Linked DNA regions of Homo sapiens: all the other regions are linked to region 3. Evidence: promoter capture Hi-C in human tissues and cell types (Jung and others, 2019). All regions are on one chromosome and are shown on one strand. Each heading gives the region's core, a stretch centred on a gene start or on the middle of the fragment in contact. The rest is flanking DNA. Distances are from core to core; before and after follow the strand shown.

What was found. The method cuts DNA at HindIII sites, captures the fragments that hold promoters and counts their contacts. A contact is called where the count stands out against the background at its distance.
Region 1: a contact is called between a fragment that was not itself captured here and the fragment with the promoter of PLCXD3 in region 3, in 3 of the 25 tissues and cell types used here (adrenal gland, dorsolateral prefrontal cortex and hippocampus).
Region 2: a contact is called between a fragment that was not itself captured here and the fragment with the promoter of PLCXD3 in region 3, in 2 of the 25 tissues and cell types used here (heart right ventricle and pancreas).

The regions. Positions count from the first base shown.
Region 1 is chr5:41,553,365-41,558,010 of GRCh38, forward strand. No RefSeq gene overlaps it. Among named protein-coding and RNA genes, the nearest start is that of PLCXD3, 45 kb to the left of the region's middle. The HindIII fragment of the contact is 4,338 bases long and covers 176-4,513 here.
Region 2 is chr5:41,447,527-41,451,983 of GRCh38, forward strand. The region is part of intron 1 of PLCXD3 (phosphatidylinositol specific phospholipase C X domain containing 3); the gene reads right to left. Among named protein-coding and RNA genes, the nearest start is that of PLCXD3, 61 kb to the right of the region's middle. The HindIII fragment of the contact is 3,578 bases long and covers 1,060-4,457 here.
Region 3 is chr5:41,509,327-41,513,520 of GRCh38, forward strand. PLCXD3 (phosphatidylinositol specific phospholipase C X domain containing 3) reads right to left here and starts at 1,275. Exons shown (of 3, transcript NM_001005473.3): 1 at 1,098-1,275. The coding sequence starts at 1,200. RefSeq lists an enhancer at 801-1,629. The HindIII fragment of the contact is 4,804 bases long and covers 1-4,194 here.

The sequences.
Region 1 (4,646 bases), core at 1,095-3,594, 45 kb after region 3:
GTGAGGACATGGAAGGAGTTGGAGGCCATTATCCTTAGCAAACTAATTCAGGAATAGAAAACCAGATATCACATGTTCTCACTTATAAGTAGGAGCTAAATGATAAGAACACATGGACACAAAGAGGGGAATAACAGATGGGCCTACCTGAAGATGAAGGGTGGGAGGAGGGAAAGGATCAGAAAAAATAACTATTAGGTAGTAGGTGACAAAATAATCTGTGCAACGAATGCCTGTGACACAAGTTTACTATATAACAAACCTGCACATGTACCCTTGAACCACATGGACACAAAAAGGGGAACCACAGATGGGCCTACCTGAAAGTGGAGGGTGGGAGGAGGGAAAGGATCAGAAAAAATAACTATTAGGTACTAGGTGACAAAATAATCTGTGCAACGAACACCTGTGACACAAGTTTAGTATATAATAAACCTGCACATGTACCCCTAGACCTGAAATTAAAGTTAAAAAAGAAGTTGGAAGGAAAATAAAATCAGCAGAAAATTTAAATGGTTGATTTTTTTAGAGTACAGAGAATATGTGGGGATGCAGGGGGAGTGGCTATTAAATGTCTGGTACCGTTAAAAAATTATAAAAATAAAAATTTATTTAAAAAGAGAAAATATTCCAGTAGAAAGGATGAATAATTATAGTATTTTCTCATGATGCAAATTTGGCTTCTATTCATTTATTTAATAAAAAGGTATTTATTGTATAGTTTGGCAGTTTGTAGAACTATATATTAAAAGGAACCCCAAAGGGTGAGAAACCAAATTAACAAACCTAACATGAATGATATATCCTGAATATATGTCCCCACCAAATCTGACGTTGAATTGTAATCCCCAGAATTAGAGGTGGGGCCTGTTGGGAGTTGTTTGGATCGGGGGGAAGAACTCTCATGAATGGCTTAGCACCATCCCCTTGGTGATGAGTGAGTTCATGCAAGATCTGGTCATTCAAAAGTGTGTGACACCTACCATTCTCTCTCTCTTTTGCTTCTGTTCTGGCCCTGTGATAAGCCTGCTCCCGGTTCACCTTATGATATGAGTAAAAGCTCCCAGAGGCCTCCTTAGAAGCTGAGCAGATGCCAGTGCCATGCTTGTATGGCCTGCAGAAGCATGAGCCAATTAAACCTCCTTTGTTTATAAATTACCCAGTCTCAGTTATCCCTTTATAGCAATGCAAGGATGGCCTACTGCAATGAAGGCCATTCTTCCATTGCTATATGTATACCTTATTAGAATAAGAAGCTATAGATAAGATAACTAGCCAGAAGACAGAAGCAGATAAGCCCACGTACTCATAGAGGAGGGAGGAAGTCTGGTTTCACAGTGAGTGATGGTATAAAGCCCACCTTCATCCATTCCAAGGCAGAAGACTGCCATGGTGTCTGGCAGAGAAGGGCCCATGAAACACCTGGAAAAAACCTGATGAGGGACATGTTCTTAGTTTGGGACTGAGTGTAGGGTGTTCTATCCAACTTTGCCTGGGCTCAAGGAGCAGCAGCTTTCTCAACAAAAGGAGATGTGTTTACCAACACATACTCTTCAGCAAGATTAACTGTTCTGCAGGGAATGCATAGCACTGATGATCACATTCCTCATTCTTCCAGGAAATAGGGCTAAAAGTATATGTGTGTAGGACTGTGAGGTGAAGCTGAAATTCAAGCACTGACCCCAGAAAAAAAAACTTCAGTGGATTAGCAGGGTTCCCTCCATACTGTCATTGTTTCTTTCCCGGGATGATGATCTAGAACCAAGGTTGGAGTCCTGAAGCATTTTCAACCACTGGCTTCTGCTCCTTTTCTCTCCATTCAATCTCCATTCTCATACCAAGGAGACAAGAAAGTCATTCAGTATGGATAAACATCTCCTCTAGAATACATTTCTGGGTTGTTAAGAGAAGTTATGAAGCTTTAAGTGACTTTGAAAAAATGCAAAATATTATACAGATCTTAGTTAATTTTTCCACTTCACAGCTTAATAGAAGGTTTTTCCTTCTCTTTTAAATTGGTCATGGAGTCAGTCTGTAAAAAGTTCACTGATCATTTTATAGAGAAATAGGAGAGCAAACTGGTTAATGACTCGCTCACGGTCTTACACAGAGATAAGGGTAGAATCGAAGTCTCTTGATTTCTGAACCACTTTTTTGTGCCCTACTCAATATTTGGCTGCCAATATTATAATTGCTAATATCTCCATAACACTGGAGCATCAGCTTATACCTGTACGAGAAGCTTCAGTGGTCTTCTGCCTCCAGGCAAATTGCTATCAAATCTTCTTAAGATCTTAAAATCTTTATAGAGGCTCTGAAAGAAAGGTAACCTGATATAATGGAATGGCCACAAATTTCAGTCAGGCAGCTATTTAGAATCCAAGCTGTCACTCACTAACTCTGTGTCTCAGAGCAAATAACTAAGCTTCTGGGATCCTCAGTTTTTTATTTATAAAATGAGGATAGTAATACACCAAAGACTTGGATTTCTTAAATTAACATTATTTCTAATTGAAACATTAAAATTGAATATATTTAATGGGATACTATTTGATATTTTGCTATATGTATACACTGTGTAATGATTCAATGAAGCCAGTTAACATATCTATCACTTTGCTTACCTATCATTTTTTATGGTGAGACATTTGAAATTTATTTTTTTCATTGTGTTTGTTAGTTTGTTTTTTTGAGACAGAGTCTTGCTCTGTCGCCCAGGCTGGAGTGCAGTGGAGCAGTGGTGCAATCTCGGCTCACTGCAAGCTCCGCCTCCCGGGTTCACGCCATTCTCCTGCCTCAGCCTCCCGAGTAGCTGGGACTGCAGGGGCCCACCACCACGCCCGGCTAATTTTTTGTATTTTTAGTAGAGACGGGCTTTCACTGTGTTAGCCAGGATGGTCTCAATCTCCTGCCCTCCTGATCCGCCAGCCTCGGCCTCCCAAAGTGCTGGGATTACAGGCGTGAGCCACCGTGCCTGGCCTTTTCATTGTTTCAAAATATACATTATTACACGATAGTCATCCTGCCATGCAATAGTTCCCAAAGCTTATTTTTCCTGTCCATCTGAGACTTTGTATCCTTTGATCAGCCACTCCCTATCCCCTCCCTCCCTATTGCCCCTCCTCCCAGCCTCTGGTAACCATTATTCTATTTTCTACTTCTGTGAATTCAACTTTTTAATATTTCACATGAGTGAGATCATTCAGCATTTGTCTTTCTGTGCCTGGTTTGTTTCACTTAGCCTAATGTCTTCCAGGTCATTAATGTTGTCTACAAAATGACAGGAATTTCTTCTTTTTAAAGGCTTAGTACATTGTGTATATGTACCACATTTTCTTTATTCATTTATCACTGATAGATGCTGCAATGGACATGGAAGAGCAGATATCCTTTTAATATATTAATTTCAGTTGCCATGGATATGTATTCACAAGTAGGATTACTGGATCATATGGCAACTTGATTTTTAATTTTTGGAGAAACCTGCGTACTGTTTTCCATAATGGCTGTACTCATTTACATTCCCACTAACAATGTACCATAGTTCCCTTTTCTCTTCATTCTTCTCAACACTTTTCTTTTGTCTTTTTGATAAAGGCCATACTAACAGGTGTGAGTTCAGATCTTATTGCTGCATTGCTTTGATAATTGGTGGTGCTGAGCATTTTTTTCATGTACCTGCTATACCATTTGTATGCTTTCCTTTGAGAAATGTCTGTTCAGTTTCTTTACCCATTTTTTAATTGGGTTATTTGTTTTCTTACTATTGAGTTGTTTGAATTATCTGTTTTGAATATTAACCATTTATCAGATGTATGGTTTGCAAATATTTTCTCCCATTCTGTGGATTATCTCTTTATTTTGTTAATCATTTCCTTTGCTGTGCAGAAGGCTTTTAGTTTGATGCCATGCCATTTTTCTACTGTTGTTCTGTTGCCTGTGCTTTTGGAGTCATATTGAAAATGTCCTTGTCCAGACTAACATTGTGGAGCTGTCCTCTTACGCTTTCTTCTGGTAGCTTTACAGTTTCAGGTGTTATATGTAAGTCTTTAATTAATTTTGAATTGTATTTCTGTATATGGCATGAGATAAGAATCCAATTTTATTATTCTGCATGTGGATGTCCAGTTTTTCAACACCACTTATTGAAGAGACCATCCATTCCCCATTGTGTGTTCTTGGCACCTTTTTCAAAAATCACTTGACCTTTAATGATCTTACATATAAGAAAACCCTGACGACTCTACCAGAGGACTGTTAGAACTGATAAACCAGAGGACCTTTAGAACTAATAAACAAATTCAGTAAATGTACAGGATACAAAATCAATCAACATAACAAAAATTAGTAGCATTTCTATATATTAATAATAAAGTATCCAAATAGGAAATCTCATTTACCATAGCATCAATAACAAAAATACTTAGGTATAAATTTAACCAAGGAGATGAAAGACCTATATACTGAAAACTATAAACATTCATGAAAAAAATTGAAGAAAACACAAATAAATGAAAATATATCCCATGTTCATTGATTAGAAGAAAATGTTGAAACTACCAAAGTGATCTACATATTCAATACAATCCCAATCTAAATTGTAATGTCATTTTTCACAGAAATAGAAAAAAATCCTTAAATATATA
Region 2 (4,457 bases), core at 1,599-4,098, 60 kb before region 3:
TCACAGGCCCTGTTTGATAACAGCATATTGGAATTCAGATGTGACTCCATGGAGTACAGGCACCTTGAATAGCCTCTTCATCTAAATCACATGTGTGAGCCCCAGAGGATATTGCATTTAATTGCCAAGATTGGGACGGAGGCCTTAAAATGGCCCAAAGAACAGAGCAGGAGGAGGAAGCCATTACAGCTATCCCTCTCTGCAAATAGAATGGATAATATGTTGGCATAAAGTTACAATTTCTTCCTGTATCTGCTTAGGTAAGGCTGACAAATAAAACTAGCGTAAACCTTCAAACCTGGGAGGCAAACAGTTATCTCATTAAGGCAAAGGCCATTAACTTGCCATCATCATCTGGTTACATGCTGTGCTGTGAATAAATTAAATTCAGATTTAGAAGCATTCTGGCTATTGTTGGCTGACATGCAATATAACAGTACAAATGCCACCAATCATTCATAGACCAAAATTATGGGGGACAAAGAAGGAGGAAAGAGAGAAGCCTATTCTCAGGCTCTGGTGCAGCTGTAACTGAAAGCCTCATAACAGCTCTTAAACACCATAAAGAGTTAAGACATAGGCTATAATTTTTCCCTGATCTCTAGGACCAAAACAGACATAGAAGGTGTTGTGAAATCAATGCATCTGACAAGATGCTCTTGACTGGGACCTGAACCCCACCTCTCCCATCATTCCTGGATCCTGCAGAGTTGATACAAACCAGAAACCCAGTTGACTTCAGCATGCTGAGAAGGATGAAAAAGCCACCTGCTCTTGAATAGGAGATGTCTGAGGCCAAGCTCAAGGCAGATTTACTTGGGCTGAAGCCATCTTTCTTCCCACATCCCAAACTGGCATCTAGCCAATATGGCAATCATCTGAAAAATGCCTCGGAAATTGGTGCCAATTAGGTTTTCCAAAAGTAACTAAGAAAATTGATAGAATTAGAGAGCAAAATAAATCTTACAAAATACCTCTTGTATTGTAAAATCATATAGAACTAGCATACTGGTTGCATGTAGCCTGCCTTAACTCTTTTTGGAAAAGTTAGCAAATAAATAAATACATAATTTATCTAAAACGGAACAACTCAATTCTCCTTTCTAACTTTCCTAACTTCTCAATCATACAAGTTTTGAGTCATCCTTTTCTTCTTTCCCTACCTCTTTTTTCACCAAGTAACAAAATCTAATGTATGCCTTTAAATAGAGGAGAAGCTCAGTATAGTTAATGAATGGATGAGTGAAATAAATGAATGCTATTACTGTGTTTAAAACCCAACAACAAAGAAAGATAATACTCACTTCCCAAACTTCTTAGTATGACATTTATAATCTTCTTAACCTTGGTCCAATACATGTACATACACATTTTTAACTTCTCTTCTCCCCTAAAAGAATCTTCCATTTCAGTCAGACCCAAATGCTAAACATGCACACCTTTCCCTTTCTGCACCTGCAAAACTTTCTGTACCCACACTATGGTTCCTTGCCCATGATTTTTCCAGAAAACTTTCTATATCCATGACTTCACTGGACTCCTACGATATATATAGTCTCTATTTTCACATTACATTTCACCATTTACTCCTTGGCATTTCTGTATATTATTTTATCTATTATCATTTAACTTTGTAATGAATGTTCTCATTCTCCTCAAAAGTACAATCTAATATTCTTTCAAATAGAAAAAGATATTACACTCACTGATATCCTCATAGCAATTTGCATTAATGCATTTTATACCAAAGCTCAGAAAAAAATTTTAATGAATGACTAAACAAGATTGATTTTGCTGAGAATGTAAAGCTGAAATTGTAAAGTATAGCTTAGAGCATAGTCAGTGGTCAAATTTCATAATAACTTTCTAATTTTCTAAACTATACAGACTTTTCTACCATTTTCGGTGACACCATAGATTTTCACATTCAAAAATTGAAATGCATTCTCTCTGTGTGTAGCTTAATTTTTATTGCCCAAAAGCAGACTATGAGACTAAGATTTTAGTGCAAGTAGTTTATTTGAAAGGTGATCATAAAAGGACCATAGAGGAGGTGGGCAGTGAGATAGGGAAGGGAAAAAGCCAGTGTAAAGTACACTGATAAGCAGAATAACATTGTGAGAAGTGGGGTTCCATCCTACTGGGAATACCTAGGACATACTATAGGAGTGCCTCAGAGTTATCTCACCTGGAGATTGAGGAGACTGGGATATTCATCTACCAATTTCCTGTTACTGGTTAAGGCCCTTTTCTGCCCTTACTCTCCAACCACAGGACCTTGCATTAAAAAGCCATTGGTGGGCATAGGAATGGGGGGCGAGGAAGGGCATATAAGCAGTACACTAATAGTGTCTGCTATATCTTAAAGCATAAATATTGAAGACACCACCTATTACCTCCCCTAACAGGTAGATGGGGAGGTATACTGAATACCATTATAATTTTAATGCTAAAGAAGACATCAATGGCTTTCTCTGGAGTAGTACACAAGAGAACAGCAATACAGTAAATACATCTACACACTGGAAACAAACTGAAAGAAAAAGTGATTCTGTCCTATGAAGCTCTATTCCTTGTTCTATCTTCAAAGCTGCCCTTGGTTTTGGCTTGATTTCACCAGAAACAAGATCATGAGGAGCCTGGTGAAAGTAAGAAGGAAGAACAGAACTGGGAGGGTGCTGTATAAAGACTGATACAAGAAGAGTGGAAAACCTGCTGATTTTCTTGCAAGTCTGAATTGATAGGAAACTAACATTCACAGCATCTTAGACACAAAAGCTTCCAGCCAGGTGATAGTTATTTTATCTCTAAACAAGCTTCTCTGCTCTGTTTTTCAAAGGTCTCCAAGATAAAGGACATGGATTTTAATTAGCAAGTTTCAATTGACAGAGAATTAAAATTTAATGTTCTATTCATCAATAGTTTAAGGATGAAGTTTCCCAGTAGTGCCTGGGAAATGTGGCTGTCAGAGCTGCTTACAGTTTACAAATACTTTACAAAACTTACAATGCTGATAGAAGCAGCTTGAAAGTTTCCTCCAAGTACACCTGAATTTAGGTCTCTCTAGTAGTAAAGAAAGAGGCAAGCTTACTCTTTTCCAATTTCACTCTCATCTTCCCAAGAACACTTTACTTGTTAAGACTGTCTGTGGAAGTTTCTTATCAGTGACACATTTTCTAAATGCAGGTCTCCTAAGTCCCCGGGCTGCCTCAGATACCACCTGCAGGTCCTTCTCCATGATGTATATAGTGAGGGGTCACACAACCCCATTCTCTCCTCTACATTCAAGGGATTCTATACGCAGAGATGGACAAAAGAGAAGTAGGAAAGGGGAAAAGAAGGAGATGGATTGCAGCACAGATAATGGGAATAATGGAAGCAGAAAAAAAGGAGGAAGAGGAATAGGAGGCTGATTATCAAAGTTGGAGGTTGAGCTTCCTGCTATCTCTATGCCTAACTGAGAAGACACTGGAGTGTCATGCTGTATCTTCATCTCTGGTTTGGAGGAGTTCTCCAAGCCAGGAGCAGTTTCCCCTGGTGTATGTGTCAGAGGAAATAAATGGATTCTGGGAAAACAATGTTCTTTTGGTACATATTGAACAATTTTTACTCTAGAGTGGACTCTTCAAAAAATACCAAAGGTTCAAGGGCTTCATACACCTCAACGTAACCTGAGACATCTTAGTCAAAAGCAGAAATGGACAAGTAAATTTGTCTTTTCTTTTTTGACTCCTGAAGTACAAAAGTAGAATGTTTTATAAGCCAGTGAATTTCCTGCTACCAGGAATGTTTGGAATATTTGTCATAAGATGGTATTTGAGGAATATTTTAAAAGATCTCTGCTTGAGGAGGGAGATGGGATTCTATTTACAATTCAACTCGATAGACATTTAAGTGCCTCTGATTGCAAAAGTGAACACAAAGCTGTTGCTGATGTCAACAAGGCAACACTCTAGCAGAAAAGATGGGTATAGATGACTGTGGTAACAAAAGTGTTATGCCTAAATGTATATGCAGAGAGGAAAAGCATTGACTTTTCAAGAATATTTAAAAGCAGCCCCAAAGAGAAATAGAGTGATTATTTTGTCTGGTAGATCTGAGATCTTTCCTCTCTCTTTTTTTTTTTTATGTTGGATGTCCACCCCTAATCCTTGGTCTCAGCAAAGAACATGATGAACTCACCTACTGAAAGACATTGAAGGGAAACTGGACCCTAAGAACTAGCTCTCCATGAGGTTCTTCCTTTCTTCACATTTGTCACTTTTTTGCTAGCCTTCAGAGAGCAATTTTCTTTAAACAATATAATCAGCTGATTCACTGAGCAGTAAGAGAAAATATCATCTTCTTGTTGGATTGGAGGCTTCCCAAGGCCTACTTGACCCTTGGAGTGTAATATTTACCCAATTCTCAAATGAGGGGAATTTTGTGTGCATGTTGAGAAACAGGTATCTTGATTG
Region 3 (4,194 bases), core at 25-2,524:
TGAAAAGATCAAGTGTGTGCTCCCCCAGCCCAACTGCATAGCCAAATTGACAATAAAGTATGGCCGTGTCCCAGCTGTCATTGTTGTAAACTGTCCTGAAACGACCCTCACTCCTGGATACCTGATCTAGGGGGTTGTTAGGAGCTGCCACCCTAGAAACCTGCCCAGTCTCTGGTCCAAGTCGCACACATCAAGCTGAAGCTTCTTGATCCCTCAGGTCTCTTCCTCGCTTTGTCCACGCTTCTTTCCTTCTAGACTGTCTGGACACATTCTCAGTCACCTTTTCCGTACTATTTGCCTATTAATCCCACCCCTCCGCTCAGGTCACGCAGGTTCCCCTGCCCAGCTTCTGTCCCGAGCAGTAAACATACGGTCCGCAAGGGTTTGCTTTTTTGACCTGGGCGAAGTGTGTTGCCAACACGCACTTGGACCAGACTCGAGACAGCGGCCACTCGGCCAGGTCCCCCGGGGTCCAAACCGATACGAAATGGTGCCCTCTGCCCGTCGCCCCCTTGGGCTCCTTTTCAAGGGCAGCTATCACGCCGCCTCTGGTCCCTGAACTTTCATCACTCTTCGGGAAGCGCTTTGTCTTTTTAAAGGAGATTGGGGACGAATATTAATGACTGTAGCCGAGAATCTATCAAATCCGCCCAATTCCATGCCAGGGATAGACTCAGGTCCTTGCACCGAAGGCGAGCCCCTGACACTAGCTCGCGTTCTTCACACACGGTCACCCCGCAGACCCAGAGATTTCTCCCACTTCCCCAAATCTGCAGGAGAAACCATAGGAGGGGGTCACGAGGCACCATCCTGGAGCCCAGCTTCTCCTCTGCCCCAGTCCTCCGCATACAACCTGCTTCAAAAGCCCAGGAGAAAAGCAGTCACCTTGACTCTAGCGCCTCGGTCCTTAGGGGTTTGGAAAACGCCAGGAAGCCCAAGGCTACCCGGCACGCGCTCGCCTGGCCTGAGACCCACCCTGGAAGACGAGTTTCCCTCCCGCGGGCATCGTGGCAAGTTACCACTTAGTGGCAGATAAAGCAGGGCGGGGCAGGTGGAGCGGGCGCCGAGCGCCTAGCCCGCAGCCCCTGCGCGCCTACCTGGAATGGCTAAATTGGTGAGGGGGATGCTGTGCATGCTCTCCGGCAGAGTTGCCATCCAGTCGGCTAATTTCAGCTCGTTTTTCCCCTGAGACGAGGCCATCGTGCCAGTCGGCGTGCAGCGCGCTGGTCCCAGCACTCCTCGGGCAGGCTGGCAGGCTGCTGCCGCTAATCCAATGTTTGCTCTAGCCCCGCTAGAGTTTACACTCCTCTCTGCGCCACACCCACAGGATGGCGCAGACACATGCTAATTTTAATAATTATTCAAAACACCCCGTGCTCCCTTAGTGCCTCCGCCAGACTCCGCTGGAGCTTTTGTTCCTGACGTCCGTGCTCAGCTCTCTCCGCTCTCCCCTCCCTCCCCAACCCCCTCCTCCCGTCTTATCCTTCCTAGGCGTCTCTGCCTTTCCTCGCCATTCTGCAGCTTTCCCTGGTTTCTTATTTTTCTTTTCTATTCATTTTTTTCCAACTGCTTTGCCCATGGCTTGCTCGATCCTTTGCTGTGACTTTCTCGTCCTGTTTGTATGAAAGACAGTCTTGCACTTGAACCTAAAATCCTAGCAGACTTTGGGATGTTATTGCCTCCTGAGGAACAGACTTCTCATGCTGGGTTTCAGGGCTTTCCGTCCTTATCAAAGAGCTTTCCTTTTTGTAATCTACAACAGGTTATACCTTTCCTCAGCCAGAGACCACAACCCTGTTTATTAAAAAATGATTATCTTTATTCACTCTTTTGCCTACTTTGTGAAATAGCTGGTAAGTATGAGTCAGTGAAGGGCATGGTAAATTCTAGGTGGTTCCTACTTAATCCTGGGTACCTTGCTCCAGACATTTCAAAGTCAAGAAATGCTACTCCCCCTTCTTTTCTCAGATCATGAGAAGTCTACATTATTTCCATGGAGAACACTGCCTCTGTCCTGTCAGTTTCATGGCACTCAGGGTAAGACTGGAGCCTTATGCTGGAAGAAAATCGCCACATCTCCCAGTGACATGCTCTAATTATTGCCAGTAGCATTTGGTGGAATGTATTTGGCACCATTCAAAGTGATCTATGTGACTGTCTGCATTTTCATTCCTTTGCAGACTGGAAAGATGTGCCTCTCTCAAGAGAAATCACTCACTGGGCCTCCAAAGAACTGTCTGGGTCCACCTGCTCTCAGATGAGTAAAAGGAGAGAGATGAAGTTTTACAAATGTAATGAGAGCAGCAGTGGCCTGAATAGGAATTATAAGAGATGAACTGAAAGTGTGCTGGGCTTTTGCAACCCAGGAAATGGAAATGCAATAAACAGACCTCTGTTCTTTCATGCCAGGGTTGTGTAAATTTTTATTTTTCTATGGGAAATGCTATTAGATTGCGGAAATGACAATCAACATAGGAGACAAAGAGAGCCATGAAACATGAGAATAATTATTCAAGGTTAGTAAATCCATTTAATCCCAAATAGCATTAAAAAATAAGAAAAAACCTAGAGCCTACCTTATTTTCTACAATGATGCTAAGTCCTAAGAATATTCACCCCCAAATGGGGAGCACTATGGGAAAGATAGAGGAGAGGCAACGCCTTATTTTGGTTATCAAATTTTCCATGCCCCTTGTAAAATAAATTCATACCTTCAAGAGGACATGGTACAGTTATCTTTAGTGATGAGGAAGAGATATACTGAAAATTTTCCCCAAATAAATCTTAATATACATGCTAGTACAATAGAACCCACATATCCTTTTAATTAGGATGATAGTTTAGCTTACTATAGGACTCTTGGTCAAGAGATCTACAAACACCACCCTTCTGTAAGAAACCTACAAACACCACCTAATGCTGGTGGTCTCAGGGCATGATTGCAAGGCAATGAGGAAAATTCAAATCTAGTGGTCAGCTGCTCTGTCTCTGAGTAGTTTGGGCAAGTCCTCTAGTCTCTGCTAGCCCCAGTTTTCTCCATTATAAAGTGGTAATAAGAACTCAGAGATTTGTGGTGAAGCTTCCAGAAGAGAGTGCATACATGTTTAAGATAACAGGATATGTGTATTTACCACTCTTTGTCTTTTCTATACTTATGAAGTATTTTTTTCAAAAGCATGAAATAATTATTGAATCTGGGGTACATTTTTAATAAGACACATTTTAGAAACATGCCCTGTTAAAGTATATTGAGCTTATGTGGCCCTAAAAATTTACAAAGCATTTTTTACAAAATGAAACCACCTTAACTGGTGAGGAAAGTTCCCCTCTATAAAGAATCATACTATCTTTTGGCAAAACAAACTAACAGTCCCTTCTCTGTTTCATCTGATTTGCATTTCAGGATTTTAAATGTCTTGGTTTAATATAAGTTATTATCATTTTCTACATGCAACCCATGAAAAAAGATAGGCCTGAAAGTTGATAGTTGTGAATTTCTTTCCCAGCCTTATAATCAATATTTTGGGCAATTATATGACCCAGTTTCTCCATCTTTCTATCACCAACCCTGCTACCACTTACTAAAACACATTGGGACAATCATGTAATTTCTCTGGGCTTTAATTTTGTCACTGGATTAATCAAGGTTCTCCAGAGAAACAGAACCAGTAGTATATATATAGAGAGAAAGAGATTTATTTTAGAGAAATTGTCTCATATGATTGTGAGAGCTGGCAAGTTCAATATATGTAGGGCAAACTGGAAGCCTGGAACATGAGATAAGAATTGTTCTTGCAGTCTTGAGTTCAAAATCTGCAGAGCAGGCCAGCAGGCCAGGAACTCAGGAAGGACTTCTATGCTGCAGTTTTGAGGCAGAATTGCTGCTGCTTCAGATAGCTTTAGTCTTTGTTCTTAAGGCCTTCAACTGATTTAATAAGGCCTACCCACATTATAACAGGTAATGCACTTTACTCAAAGTTAAATGATTATAAATGTTAATCACATTGACAAACATCTTCACAGCAACATCTACACTAGTGTTTGACCAAGCAATTGGGCATCACAGCCTAGCCAAGTTGACATATAAAATAAACCATCACACCCACTTGCAAATTAACTAGAAGTTACTGCCAAACTCTATGGCCCCCTTTGACTCTATTATTCTATAATTTTATTTTTTTATGATTCTTTCTT